Linked DNA regions of Homo sapiens: regions 1, 3 and 4 are each linked to region 2. The links are contacts of gene promoters, found by promoter capture Hi-C in blood cells and fetal thymus (Javierre and others, 2016). All regions are on one chromosome and are shown on one strand. Each heading gives the region's core, a stretch centred on a gene start or on the middle of the fragment in contact. The rest is flanking DNA. Distances are from core to core; before and after follow the strand shown.

What was found. The method cuts DNA at HindIII sites, captures the fragments that hold promoters and counts their contacts. A CHiCAGO score of 5 or more calls a contact.
Region 1: a contact is called between a fragment that was not itself captured here and the fragment with the promoter of NDUFB2 in region 2, in 1 of 17 cell types (endothelial precursors). The highest score is 6.3, in endothelial precursors.
Region 3: a contact is called between a fragment that was not itself captured here and the fragment with the promoter of NDUFB2 in region 2, in 2 of 17 cell types (endothelial precursors and megakaryocytes). The highest score is 5.2, in endothelial precursors.
Region 4: a fragment that was not itself captured here is called in contact with the fragment with the promoter of NDUFB2 in region 2 in 1 of 17 cell types (endothelial precursors); the score reaches 5.6 in endothelial precursors.

What each region holds. Positions count from the first base shown.
Region 1 is chr7:141,536,379-141,540,209 of GRCh38, reverse strand. All of the region lies in intron 1 of AGK-DT (AGK divergent transcript), which reads left to right. Among named protein-coding and RNA genes, the nearest start is that of AGK-DT, 13 kb to the left of the region's middle. The HindIII fragment of the contact is 2,255 bases long and covers 162-2,416 here.
Region 2 is chr7:140,694,818-140,698,574 of GRCh38, reverse strand. It overlaps NDUFB2 (NADH:ubiquinone oxidoreductase subunit B2), which reads right to left and starts at 1,867. Exons shown (of 4, transcript NM_004546.3): 1 at 1,733-1,867. The coding sequence starts at 1,830. NDUFB2-AS1 (NDUFB2 antisense RNA 1) reads left to right here and starts at 1,498. Exons shown (of 2, transcript NR_024454.1): 1 at 1,498-1,660; 2 at 1,755-3,239. ADCK2 (aarF domain containing kinase 2) reads right to left here. Exons shown (of 8, transcript NM_052853.4): 8 at 3,465-3,757. RefSeq lists an enhancer at 1,549-1,858. The HindIII fragment of the contact is 6,958 bases long and covers 1-2,833 here.
Region 3 is chr7:141,646,359-141,650,069 of GRCh38, reverse strand. AGK (acylglycerol kinase) reads right to left here. Exons shown (of 16, transcript NM_018238.4): 14 at 737-807. Among named protein-coding and RNA genes, the nearest start is that of DENND11, 54 kb to the left of the region's middle. The HindIII fragment of the contact is 2,360 bases long and covers 1,150-3,509 here.
Region 4 is chr7:141,598,961-141,602,584 of GRCh38, reverse strand. AGK (acylglycerol kinase) reads right to left here. Exons shown (of 16, transcript NM_018238.4): 5 at 1,305-1,380. Among named protein-coding and RNA genes, the nearest start is that of AGK, 49 kb to the right of the region's middle. The HindIII fragment of the contact is 2,562 bases long and covers 891-3,452 here.

The sequences.
Region 1 (3,831 bases), core at 40-2,539, 840 kb before region 2:
CTGTTGAATGACTACCCATTAAGATTTTAACTTAAAAAATTTAAATAATTGACGTCATTTATTATAAATGTAGGGTTAGTTTTTAAAACTAGAATTAATGAATCAGAGGAAATATATTTGAGGTTCCAGATGCATTTTTCCAAATTTTTTAATTAAAAGCTTATAACCAATTTATGTTCCCACTATCTTCACTGGATAGTGCCTCTCATAGCACCCTTGCCATCAATAAGTATTGTTTTGCCCAATGTCTACTTATTTAATTGCTGGGAAAATAGTATTTCATTTTTTCAGTTTAAATTTCTTTGGTTATGAGTAAAACTATTTTTTCATCTATCCAGCCATTTTCCTCTTCCATAGAAATTTGCCTGTCTTTTACTTGTATTTTTATTCTATTTTCCCAACTTGCTTTTTATGTTTATTTTTATTTTTAAAATTCTATAAACTTACCTAAATGACTAAAGGATCAATCATTTTAGAAGGATGATCTACTAACTGGATTCTGTTGATGTTTTAATGCTTTTCTTGTCAGTTTGATACATGCTCTTTATGTAGTAAGGATGGTAATCCTTTGACTTATTTGTTGCAAATATTTAGCACTTGGTTTACAATATGTTTCGAAATAAAAGTAAAGAAAAAAACCTCTTGAATTTTATGTAGTTAAATCTCAGGCATATTCTTGGAGAGTCCTCTATCTAGTGATCAAAATTTATTTATATTTTCTTGGAGTTTTCTATGGTTTCATTTTTTATATTAATCTCTTAAAACTCACATATAATTATTGTTCTGTATCAAAATGTACCCAAATCTGTCCAACCTTAAGGTCTTCACTGAAGCCATTCCATTCACTTATCACCTAACTCCTTCTCACCTTCCTCCTCTCAGCTGAAAGGTGGCTTCACTCAAGAGACCTTCCCTGAGCCATCTGTTTAAATTAGGTTCCTTCTGTTGCCCTCTTTAATAGATTCCTTAACCTGTATGGCATTCATAATAATCTGTAATTATGTATTTAGTTCTTTAATTGTTTAATGCCCCCCATCTACTGTATTCTAAATTATATGAGAGCAGAAACAGTATTATTCTTTCTTACAGAATATCCATATCTTTATTTATAAAGTGCCTGGCATAAAATAAATAAAGGTTGAATGATTGAATGAGCCATGAACTTCCTTTGCTTTCTGCCCTCCCACATACAAAATTACATTTGTCTTTGTTCAAACTTAATAGTACAACCACTTTCCTCTGCTGCAGACTCAGGGAGCTTATGTTCACTCCTCCCATCCACAGCTCATCCATCCACCCGTGCTTGGGATGGCACCCCCATCTTCCCGTCCCCGAGAAATCTGCCTCATCAGTCCTTTCCTCACTCTGGTATTTTCTCCCTCCATCTCCACTGTCTTTTCCTCTTAGCATATAAACCTACTCAAAATCTGCCCACTCTAACATAGAAATATACCAAAATTACCCCCTTTCTTCTCCTTGCATTCCCACTACAATTTTTAAAATAAATCTTATTGGCATAACATTTACATACAACGAAATGCACCCATTTTTAGTGTGCAGATTGATGACTTTTGATAAATGCGTATGTTCCTATACTGGCCACAATGAAGATACAGACATTTCCATTGCCACCCAAGTGTTCTCTTATTCTTTTCCAGTCAGTTCCTACATTCCCTCAGTCCACCCCAACACCAGCCAATCACTAATCTTCTTTCTACCACTGTATGTTAATTTGTATCTTTTAGAGTTTTACATAAATGGAATTGTACAATATAGAACCTTTTGTTTCTGGCTTTTCTCTCAACACGGTTTTTTTTTTTTTTAAGATTTATCCATTGTGTGCTTCAGTAGTTTGCTCTTATTGATGACTAGTAGCCCATTGCATGGGTTTACTGCAATTTTTTTCATTCATTCACCTGTTGACAGACATTTAGGTTGTTTCAGGCTTTTTGCCATTATAAACAAAGGTGCATTCAACATTTGTATACAAGTCTTTTTGTGATATATGTTTATGTTTTTATTTCTTTTGGGTAAATACATAGGAAAGTGATGGCTGGGTTTTATGTAAGTGTGTTTAATTTCTTAAGACACTGTCAAACTAGTTTCCAAACTGGTTGCACTCCTTTACATTCCTGGAAGCAGGATATGAGACTTCCAATGGCTCCACATCCTCACCAGCACTTGGTATGTTAGTTTTAAAACTGAAGACATCCTAATATATCTAATCATCTGTGGAAGATATTGACAAAGCATCTGTTGAAATGTTTTGCCCATTTAAAAAATTCTTCTTATTGAATTGTTAAAGTTCTTTATATATTTTAGATACAAATCCCTTTCAGATATATTTTGCAAATATTTTCTTCCAGTCTATGTTGTGCTTTATTTTTATAACAGTGCTTTTTGAAAAGCAAAAGCTTTACATTTGGTGAAGTACAATTTATTGATTTTTTTTCTTTTATAGTTCATATTTGTAGGGCCCATTTAAGAGTTTTTTGCTTAATGCAATATCATTCCGATTTCTCCGATTTTTTTTTTCTTGCAGAAGTTTTATAATTTTTATTTTTATTTTTTGGTTAGGTCTATTACCTATTTTAAGTTAATATTTGTGAACTGTGTGAGGTAGGGGTTGAGGTTCTTTTTCCCATATGCCTCTCTTCAGTTGTTCCAATGTTATTTCTTTTCTTTTCTTTTCTTTTCTTTCTTTTCTTCCTTTTTTTTTTTTTTTTTCTTTTTGAAATGGAGTTTCTCTCTTGTCGCCCAGGCTAGAGTGCAATGGTGCGATCTCGGCTCACTGCTATCTCTGCCTCCAGTATTCAAGCGATTCTCCTGCCTCAGCCTCCTGAGTAACTGGGATTACAGGCACATGCCACCATGCCCAGCTAATTTTGTATTTTTAGTAGAGATGGGGTTTCACTATGTTGGCCAGGCTGGTCTCAAACTCCCGACCTCAGGTGGTCCACCCGCCTTGTCCTCCCAAAGTGCTGGGATTACAGGCATGAGCCATGGTGCCTGGCCCAACATTATTTCTTAAAATGCCATCCTTTCTTCCACTGACTTACCTTGGCAAATCATTGAACCATGTATGTATGGAGTTTTTCTGGATTCTTTACTCTGTTTTATTGATCTGTATGTCCATCTTTATGCCAATACCATGCTATCGTGATTAATAAGGCTCTTTAGTAAGTCTTGAAATTGGCTAGTTTAAGTCCTCAATTTTGTTCTCTTTTCTCAAAATATTTTGGCTATTCTAAGTCCTTCGAATTTCTATACAGAGTTTAGAATCATCTTGTCAATTTATTTTTTGTCTACAAAAAATAAAACTGTGCTTGTGATCCAGATTATGTTGAATTTATAGACCAATTTAAGATTTAATCATTTTATAAAATTGAGTCTTCCGATTTATAAATATGGTATTTATCTCCATTTATTTGGGTATTATTTCATTTTTCTTAGTAATGTTTCTTAAGTTTAAGTGTACATGTCTTGCACCATATTTTGTTAAATATATTTCAGTGTTTTCCACTGTTTAGTACTGTTATACATGGTATTGTTTAAATTTCCATTTCCAATTGTTGATTACTAGAATATAGATATACATTTTTTTTTTTTTGAGATGGAGTTTCACTAATGGCGCAATCTCGGCTCACTGCAACCTCCACCTCCTGGGTTCAAGCGATTCTCCTGCCTCAGCCTCCCGAGTAGCTGGGATTACCGGCGCCTACCACTATGCCCAGCTAATTTTTTGTAAATTTAGTAGAGACAGGGTTTCACCATGTTGGCCAGGCTGGTCTCGAACTCCTGACTTCAGGTGATCCACCCACTTTGGCCTCC
Region 2 (3,757 bases), core at 618-3,117:
CTTCAAATCACACTCCCAGGCATTCCCACGCCATCCCCAAATACAATATCCCTTCTACTCCCACACCACGCATTCTCCATATTAATCCCCAGCTGTATTCTCTTCATAACCCTTAACAGTACTCAAAAAAGGTCTTTCTTTTCTACTGGTCTCTCCTCTCCAGAATGTACACTTCATTCTCTCTCGTATTCTGCTATATCCTCAGCACCTAGAAAGGAGCAGCCATATAGAAGATGCTCCATAAACATTTATGCACTTAATTATCACACACTCTGAAACAAGTGTGTGTTACGAACAAGCCAGCACCTCAGGGAAGATCGGCATTCCCCCATCTCCTCATGCAGGACCAAGGGCTGTCGCTCATGGCTCTCCATCACTGTCTTTGCCCAAGTCACACAGGGCTTTGCCTTCTGCCCACCCCACACCTGCCCCAGCTCCAGATTCTTCATCCATGTGGGACTTCAGGCAAGTCACTCCTTTCATTTCCTGGGCCTCAGTTCCTTAATAACAACAACAGTTAAAGAATACTTGTACGGTCCTTAGCAGGCACCAGCAATTGTTTTAAACACTTTAGTGAGACCAAGCGCAGTGGCTCGCCTGTATTCCCAACACTTTGGGAGGCCGAGGCTGGAGAATCACTTGAGCCCAGGAGTTAGAGGCTGCAGTGAGCTAGGATCGCGCCACTGCACTCCAGCCTGCCTGACAGAGTTAGACCCCATCTCCTAAAACACACAAACACGCTTTAGATAACAGTAACTCATTTAGTTCCTTGCAAATGGACGCCAAATGGGTGAGGAAACTGAGGCATTAAGAGAATAAGAAACTTTTCCAAGGTCCCACAGCTGGAGTGTGGCAGAGGTGGGATTTGAACCCAGCCACTGTGCGGCCAGAATCCCGCTTGGAATCACGACCCCACACTGCCTCTTGGTAAAGTGTAGCTGATGATCTAAGGGACCTGGAATCATCCATGACTCTTTTCCAGTCCTGCTCTTACGGAATCTCTGCACACCACTAACTCGGCTTCGGCAGCTGCTCCCTACCTCGCACCCGCTCCCTACCTCGCACCCCCAGCCCTCCGCCCTCCGGTCTGCGTCTCGGGCCACCTCGCGGGCGGCTCTGCCTGTCACTCTCCTAAACGCCACGGCTGCCCCAGCGTTGGCTTCCGGCTTTCTGCTCCTCTCACCCGACGGCGCTCTCTCTGGGCGACAGCCTCCACTCCCTGCAGCCAGAGTGATTTTTCAGCATTAAAAAGCGGCCACGTGACGTCTCCGATTAAAGGCTGCCGAACAGACTCTACCCTAAATTCCGCAGCCAGGCACCGGGACCCTGGACCGCGCCCTCCCTAGGCCTCACCGCCGCCGCCCCCCGCCTCGCTCCAGGAGCGTCCACACCCGCCGCGCACGCTGCTTCCTCCGCCTGGACCGCCCGCGCCGGCGCCGACTGGCTCAGCCCGCTCCGCATTCACGCGTGCGTCTCCCGAGGGCAGGCGGCCCCTACTACCATGACGGCCCTGCACACGGTGTCCCATCTGCCCAGCGAAGTCTCTCCCTCTCCCTCCGGCCAGCGGGGTCCCTCTCCTCGAGTCGCGGCTTCAGGAGACACGCGGACTACAGGTCCCAGCATGCCTCGGGACGCGGCCTCTTCAGGCGCCCCAGTCAAGGTGAGAGCGTCCCAGGGACCCGCGCTGTCCGCTACAGGCCGGCGAGGCCCCCATCCCCAGCCCCACACTCACTGACGGACTCCACCATCTCCAGCAGTCCGTGCGCAGCCGCTTCTGAAAAGGCGGCCTCCAACGCGAGCGAAAGACGCCAGCCGAGTCAGAGCGGACATACTCGCTCCCGTCCGCCCCGCGGTCCCCAGCCGCCTCGCCCCTGCCTACTTCGCTTCCCCGGCGCTCCGCCCGCGCCTCCCGTGACGTCACAGAGTCGCTCATCTCCAGGAGTGGGGGAGCCGGCAGCCGCTCCTGACCCAGATTAGCTGTGAGTCCTTCGGCTGCAGGAAACCTCTCTCCCGAGAGCAAAGCCCACGCATAACTTATGGTTGCTGAGCTGCCCCATGCCTTCTGAAACAGCTTGTTGGTTGCCCCTCTGATCCTGTAGGGCTCTCCCCGTGTTCTGCCCCTCCTAAAACTGAGTGGTGTATAATTCTTTTTTTTTTTTTTTTTTCTTTTTGAGACAAGGCCTTGCTCTGTCACCCAGGCTGGAGTGCAGTGACACCATCTCGGCTCACTGCAACCTCTGCCTCCCAGGCTCAAGCGATTCTCCTGCCTCAACTTCCCGAGTAGCTGGGATTACAGGCATTGTGCCAGGCTAAGTTCGTACGCAGCAATAGATAATGCCACAAATGGCTTGATTCGATCCACTGGCTTTAAGGCTGGGTTGGCATAGGCTCAGGGAAGAGACTGCCGTCTTTTTGTCCCTTTCCCGCCTCCACACTGTACCTGATGCGCACTGGCACGAGGGGCTGCGTGACCAGCTGGTGTTCTCCCTCCCAGCCATCTGGAGCCATCCCAACCCCTCTCTGCCTGCTTTGAATGTCCCCTCAAGACCTGGGAAGGAAAAAATAACATCACCTCCTTGAAAAAAACTGCACCAAAGGAATCTCTGTCCACCTAAACCATACTGCTCACTAAAAGACAGGAATGAGGAACTTTATCCTGGAGAAGGAAAGAATGGGAGAAACTAGTCCTGTAGTCAGGGCAGGACTCTCGGAGAGCGCAAGGGCTTGACTCCATTCGCTGCCTGGTGGTCTCTAAGACGAGCAACATAATCTATGAAGGTGCAGGGATAAACTGTGATTTTACCTAAAAAAAAAAAAAAAGAGAAATTAAGCTTTACAAATACCCCCCCTCCAGGCTGACCCCGGGCCCCTCCTAGTCAGCCAGACGGCCACATCAGCTCAGCTCTGAGAAGAAAGCCCGTGGTTGGGCCTGGCAGAGAGGGGCAGGTGGTGGTCACTGCAGGTCTGTCCCTGGGCGCTGCCATGGAGAAGAGGACACACTGGTTATATTAACTCTCTTCATATTCACCAAAATTAATGCCTGCAAGTGGACAGGCGCAGACACTGTGGCAGAGAAACTGTAGTTCCGGACTAGCGGGTGAACCCGGGGCCATGTTAAGGAAGTGGCCAAGCCGTTCTGCTCACGTCCCCGGTATGTCAGCCACTTTCATCAGTTTTGTTTTACCTTGTAATAAAAGTTACCAAGGAGTTAGCAAAATCTATTAAAAATTACCAAGAAGATAATTTGAAGTACAATGAAATTTGCCCTAAGTGTATATTATGCTGGCAGGTAGCACCTGCATGATATTTATACATAAAGAGTGTGTGTGTGTGTGTGTGTGTGTGCACATGCCACAGATCAGTAGGACTTGATGGCATTTTCTAACCTGAATATCAAAGTCTGGGAACTACCAGCAGTACCCATCTGACCAGGGAGTATAGCGGGTCAAGAAATGAGAAAAACAGGAAAACAAAATAAATTTATTCGTCCTCCTCCACATAACATTTTCCCTGAAGGAGAGTGTCCCTGGCACCTGGCCCAGCTTCCACAATGGAATGGATAGGCCCCTTCCCTCCTTTTACTCCCTAATTGGCCCAAAGCTTTTGAACAGACCCTCAAACCAAGCAGAGGAAGCCATGGTGTGCCTTCCACCACTGGAGGGTTACATTTGAAATTGGTGTCCCAATTTTAAAACGTCCCAGCTGCCATAGGAGAGGCTCTTGGGAGTGGCCTCCAGCTCTTGACAAGGGCCCACAG
Region 3 (3,711 bases), core at 1,080-3,579, 950 kb before region 2:
AAAGCGGAGCTGAGCAGATTACCAGTTGGCATGGGAACACACCAGCTCCTCAGATGCCCTGAAGGAGGATTTATAGTGTTCTTTACCAATAAAATTCTGGCAGAGGTAGGACTTAACAAATCACAGAACTTGGAAGGGTATTCTGTATTGGAAAAGGGAAAAAGGCCTGGGAAATGTCCAAGGTACTCAATACCTTTTCCAGTTTTTCATGAAGGCCCTGGGAATAGGAGGACATGGTGAACTGACATAAATAGTAATGGATACTGTGAAGTGCTTCAAAATATAAAAAGGCTTGACACACATTCTCTTACTCAAGGCTGAAAGCCAGTCCTGAGATCGGCAGAGATGATTATTTCATTCTGTAGACGGAAAGAATTCAGAGATGCTAAATGATCCGAGTCATGACGTCGGGTAAGTGGCAGAATCAAAATTTGCATTCAGCTCTTTGACCCTGAAACCAAAGTTCTTGACGCTGTGTCATGCTCCATTGAATTCTTTGGTTTCAATTGAAAAACAAAGACTGCTCTTACATTCTGATCCCCACAAAATGAACAGTGATGGCCAGCATAGGAGAGGGGCACTCTACATGTCAGCCCATAGGAAAGAAATAACATCGAAATTCCCAAACAAGACAAGGCTTTGGCTGGATTTCTGTCTTAGACTTCATGGGGCACTCTGAATAGTAAAATCTGAGAAAATCACAAGCCTCATTTCCTGTGAACCCCAGTCCACTTACCCTATAGTTATAAAGTCTCCTTTGCTGATGGTGTCAGGTTCAATGCAGATATTCAGAAAATCTTCTTTGCTCTAAAAAGGTTAAGAACACTAACGTCATTACTCTTAAAATTTGGCTAATGCAGCCTGTTGTCATCCTCAGCTTTGATGGTTCATAGTTTGAAGCTATATATAGATAGGGGACTCTACTTGTAGTGATTTAATTCCAAACCTATTTTCAATCTTTTTTTTTTTTTTTTTCACAAAGAGCTTTACTGAGGTATAATTTATAGAAAATTCATCTCCATTGCTTGGCTTTTTTTTTTACTACATAAGCAAACAAAACTCAGAGTGGGAGGTTCTGGACGTTCTGTCACTCACTAGTAATTATTAGCCGTTCTAGTCTCTAGGATTACTTCCCTTGCAGGCCAAGCTTTCAGCCCATCCCAGCAATCTCAGTGTTCACTGTACATGAGCTTCACATGACAGCATGGAATCGGCTGCTTGGTGTGGAGAGCCCAAGTGCCTGTGCTTCTTTAATGCTCTACATACAAATTTGGTGTGCAACCAGAGTTGGAAAACAGCAATCCGTTTATTCTATGGTAATGTTTAAAAACTTTCCATTTCCAGCCACAGAAAGCTCTGGATGATTTGAGCTACGACAAAATGGCTATCAAAACAGACTTGGTTCTTGGACCAGTTCCCATAATTTGCTACCAGTCAGTGACTAGCCATACAAACCTAGCCCTCTGTAAATCAATCCCACAACTTCTATGTCAGCTTCAAATAGAGGTCTTGTTTCTTTTGGGGTAGGTTCAAAATGTTCAGGCCCAGGATTTGAGGCCTCTGAGAGCCTTAAAGCCTTTGCCTAAGATTAAAGGGTAACTAACAAAGAACTCTCAACTAAGAATTACAAAACATAAAGTGGATGACTTTGAAAGTTCACCTTTTATTTAACTACTTACTGAGTGCCAGTCATGCACCATGAACCCACGGAGCTTGGGTTACACCAATGAACAAAACCCACATGACTTTCTGCCTACAAAGAACTTACTTTCTACTGTAGAGACTGGAGGGAATAGATGGATCATAGTAAATTATAAACTCTGTTAGAAGATAAGGATGCCACAACTATATTAGAGTTTATTAGAAAATAAGATCAAAGAAGCAGAGCAAGGAACATGAGGTGGCGCTGATGGCAGTGGCTGTGTTATGAAAAAGGGGGTCCCGTGGAGAAGCCTTGGAGAGGAGGCCTGAAGGAGGTGAGGGAGCCGGCGATGTGGCCACCCAGGGCAGTGGTTCTCAAACTTTAGCAGGTGCCACTGTAGAGCAGGTAACATTCAGACTCTGGTTTTTGTTTGTCAACTAAAAAATAAATAATTTTTGGCCAGGCGCGGTGGCTCACGCCTGTGATCTCAGCACTTTGGGAGGCCGAGGCGGGCGGATCAGCCGAGGTCAGGAGTTCGAGACCAGCCCGGCCAACGTGGTGAAACCCCGTCTCTACTAAAAGTACAAATACTAGCCGGGTGTGGTGGCGGGCGCCTGTAATCCCAGCTACTCGGGAGGCTGAGGCGGGAGAATCGCTAGAACCCAGGAGGCAGAGATTGCAGTGAGCCAATATCGCACGATTGCACTCCAGCCTGGGTGACAAGAGTCAAACTCCGTCTCAATCAATCAATCAATAAAAATAATTTTTTTTTAACTCAGACTCTGGCCCCATCCCAAGTTTCTGGTTCAGTAGATCTGGGGTGAGGCCCATGAATTTTCATCTCGAGCAACTTCCATGTGATACTGATGTGCTGATCTGAGAACTGGACTTTGAGAACCCCTAATCCGGGGATGAGCAATCCACACAAGGGGAACTACTGGGGCGGAGGCCTTCAGGTGGTGCTGGGGGAACATGTCTGACAGCAGGGAACAGCAAGGAAGCCCGTGTAGCTGGAGCAGAGCGAATGACAGGGGCAACAAGTGAGGAAGACAGGGAAGAGAGGAGCTACATCAGCAGAGCCTCATAGACCATGGCGAGGAAGCTGGCTTTTAGGCTGAATGAATCAGAGAGCCACTGGAGGGTTCTAAGGAGGGAAATATGTTCTGGCTTCATTTCAATAGGATCACTCTGGCTGCCGTGTTGAGAATTAAGACAGGAGTAGATTGGAGAGGGAGACAGTGGGCTAGGAATTAACATTATAGATAAATGTGTAAGAACGGCCCAGGGTTCAGGAGCTCCCAGGAGCAATGATCTGCTCTGACAATAGGACATTGAGAGGTGGGGCTGGGTGGGGGGGTAGTTAGAGAGGAGGAGGAAGAATGGGTTAAAGCAGTGATGAGTCAGGAGGACAACCACCAAGTCACCAGGCCCAGCATACAAGGGGAGGAAAAGAAAGAAAGCACAGCCACTGCTTAAAGACTGTGGGAAAGGCAAAACTCAGGGGAGAGCCACACTTCAGCTAGAACAGGGTCGGGAAACATTTTCTGTAAAGAGCCAGAGAGTGAACACTGTAGGCTTGCAGACCATGAGGTCTCTCTCACAGCTATTCAACTCAGCCATAGTAGCTGAAAGCAACCAGAGAATATACTCAAATGAATTAGCCTGCCTGTGTTCCAGTAAAATTTGACTTAAAGACACTGAAATTTGAAGACAATTTCCACACGTAACGGGGAAAAATACTCTTCTTTTGATTTTTTTCAATGATTTAAAAATGTAAAAAATATTGTTAGCTTCAAGGCTGTACAAATACAGGCAGCAGGATAGTCGGGCCTGTGGGCTGTCCTTTGCTGACCCCTGTTCTAAAGCTTTGTTCTGGAGGCACAATTAAGTTACCTAGAAAGAAACTGTGGTTCTTTGGAGGTGAGCCTTTAGCTTTGTTAACAGGGAAGAGGGCAGCCTTTAGTCTAGAATTAATTTTGACTCACTACTGAGGCAATACCTTTCTGAGGACACTACCCAATGCCCCATGTCTGAAGAGGATTTTCTACTCTAATTGGTTTGAACACGAA
Region 4 (3,624 bases), core at 922-3,421, 900 kb before region 2:
GAGGGGAAAAAGAGAGGGTACAAATAAACAATATTGAGAATGAAAATGAGACATTACATATGCTATAGAAATTTAAAAGTTAAATAGAAGATATTATGAACAACCTGATGTCAATTAATTTGAAAATTTAGATGAAACAAATTCCTTGAAGAATTTACCTTACAAAAATTAAGTGAAGAATGAAACCTGAGTACTTCTAGAACTGTTAAAGAAATTTAATGTACATTAAAAATTTAAAAAAGGTAAAAAAGGCTGGGCATGGTAGCTTACACCTATAATCCCAGTACTTTGGGAAGCCAAGGTGGGGGGGATCACTTGAGTCCAGGAGTTCAAGACCAGCCTTGGCAACATAGTGAGCTCCTGTCTCTACATACACACACACACACACACACACACACACACACACACACAAGAAAATCTCCCCTCAAGGAAAGCTCCAGATCCAGATGGTTTTAGCTGTGAGTTTCACCAATCATTGAAGAAACAAACATCAGTCTCACATAACCATACTTGGGTCTCTCATACCTGCCACATTACAGGTACTCAAATATGTTAGTTTTCTTCCCCTTTCTCCTACCCCCGGGGGCAAACAACTGGAAAATCATGACAGAAAAGTTGGAAAAGAGGGTTCAACATTGCATGGTAAACTAGACTAAATGATCCTTTTTAACTTCTATGATTTCCTGGAAGTGTACAATATTAGAAATTGGTCAACAGACTTATAACCACAGTAAGAGAGGTTTTCACTATATACACATGTATGTACTTACCCACATATATCTCATTTAAAATTCAACAAGTAGAGTCCTGCATCTTCGAAATAGTACAATTCCTTGTAATTTATGCTTGCCTCCTTTTCTTCTTAACTAAATCTCACAAATTCTAAAGCTTTACCATTTAAAATTCTTCACCAAAGATAATTCCTTACCAGAGAGAAAATGGTTTACCTGTTTGTGGAACTACTAAGAAATTAAATTAATTACTCAGACTTGAAGGTTGTGTATTTTCAGGAAAAGAATTCTTACAGCTATAACAACTTTCATCTTCCAAGAGATGTAATTCCACATCCTATCTCTCAGATGAAAGGTGTCAAGTTCTCCAAGCCTCCATCCAATCCTATTCTGAAAATGAAAAGCTGACACTATTTGGAAAAAAACAAAACTACATTTATTAATTGTCAGAACAGGATACAACATTAATTTCTTTGCTCTTGTGACAAGCAATTTTTGCTAAGAAGCCAAGAGAAGAGGTTGTTATAAGAGGCAGCTGCTTGGGTGAAATAAACATTCAGGAGCCATTCTTACCTTAACAATAGTCACATCCATGCCAGATAAATGTAAAATCGGGGCAGCATTTTTTTCAAATAGAGTCCTGGCTTTTCTGTTAACAAAGGAAAAAATATAAACATTTTAACACAGGTTATCAAGAGCAAGAACAAAAAGCCTTACAATCTTCTTCAGGGCAGAATAAGAAAGACTATGCAATACGGGTTTCCTTTATTTGTTCAAGCACAGAAAGTTTAACAACAAGTAATGAGTTAATATGAATGGAAAAATAGAACCTTAAACTCTGGGGCCTTTGAGAATTTGCTGTTTATCTAATGCAATAAGCTCTTATCCATTTGGGAGGCTTATAGTTCACAAAGTAGTTCCTCTAGGGGAAGAACGAACACTAGATATGGTTCCATTCAGGCAACAATGCTTGATTCACTCAAGTATTCATTGAGCACCTACTGTGTGATAGACACAGGTGGAGGAGCTAGGAATACAACATAACAAAGCAGACCAAACTACTAATTCACCAGAAGCTAGTCTGAAACTCCCAGGCACAGTCATGCCCTCTCTGTGCTCCCCTAGTACCTTATACACATCTCTGTTAGTGACTTTCATACTGTATGGTGATTAGAGACTTCCAAGACTGTTGTCAGGACTAGACTGGAAGCGTTCTAAAAATAAATACCAAATCTTATTAATCCTTGAATCCCCTGACCTCTAGGATTATGTATGGCACAATTAGAAAGTACTTACTAAGTATCTGATGAATTAATGCACAAACGAATGAATAAACCTGCCCCAAATGTAGACATGTAAATTCTGAGGAAAAGGAAACAACACGATGTCTTATAAGAAGAGAAAAAACAGCCTTCAAAGAGTTTGCATATTTCAAAAGTATTATGCATATCATTCTGACAGTGAACTCTTGTCCAATTCAGGTCAGAATTCAAAAACACAGTCTAGGAATCCAGGGACACAGAAGTTGCAAAACAATCTCTTCCACCAATGGCATAGTCTCAAAGTCAAACTAATGTTAAAACATACCAATTAGTTGACCTTTTACTCAAATATTTCAACTATTACATAAGGAAAAAAAAATCCAGTACTTTCAATCAATGTCAAACACCTAACTTTTATATCCACATTTACTCAGTCCTCTGTCTTATTTTTAAACTAAGGCTGTATCCTTTGACCTTAAGGATACTTTATACAAGAATTTAAGGATATTTTATAGAAGAGACATTTTATATTCAGCTACAAAGGCAGCTAATGAGGAACACGTATAGTTATGCACAGGCCAAGCTCAATATTCTTTAAACTAAAAAGAACCACCAAATGGCATATAGAACACAAATCACTTCTTATTGTGAATTAAAATAGAAATTGAGAGGCTTGCACAAATTTTCACAAGAACCATCCAAAAGAATATCTCAAACCAAGGGCCTGAGTGTATTATAAGCAAATTAAATATTTTCTACCTTTCTACTGCTCTGAATGATTATTAGAATGAACATAAAAGGGTAAATGATAATTTCTCCTTTCCAGCTCACCATTTCTGGGGGCTTAACCCAACATTAAAGCACTGAGCTAGTGGTACTGCAAACAATTCTCCTTCCAGGGTTGCTTTCATTACTAGATTGATAGGAAAGGATCAGTTGGAAGTGGATCAGATCTATTTCCTAAAAGCAAAATTCTGAAGAAGTCTCAATCTGCCATATCAATCACAACAAATCTGTAACCTCCTCTGAGTTAGTTTAAGAAATCAGGTTAGAATATTTGGGTCTTTATTCACATCTTTATATGATGTTATAAGTTCAGAAAACCTCTAAAATGAAGGTGAAGACTTTTTTCCTTCTAATTTTCTATATAAAAGATTGAAAAACAAGTGTTACTAATAAGAAATAAATTATTTATTACATAATTAAGGGTGAGATAACACCGAGGCTAAATAAAAACCTTAGGTACTTTTAGCAATTTCCAGACTCAGGCACATACAAAAAATAATTACTCTTTTATGTATTATTTATTAATGCTAAACACACAGTTATCTTATTTCTTAAAGCTCTTATGTAGTTTTAAACCAGTACTACATAATGAAATAGCTACATGATAAATTATAAATTATGTGTCAGGACAGAGCTATGATGACAAAAATAGTGCAATTAAATAGTGAAAGCTTTTAAAAGAAAAAAAGAAAGGATGCTGGAGAGTTTCAGACTTTCCCAGAAGCACGCAGGGATTCTTCACCTTGTTAAAGGAGACAACACCTTTAGAAAAGACTTTCCTTCAGTGGCAGTATTTTAGCTTACCTTTAGATAAAGATGTTATAGTTTTAAACAAGAATCTACCT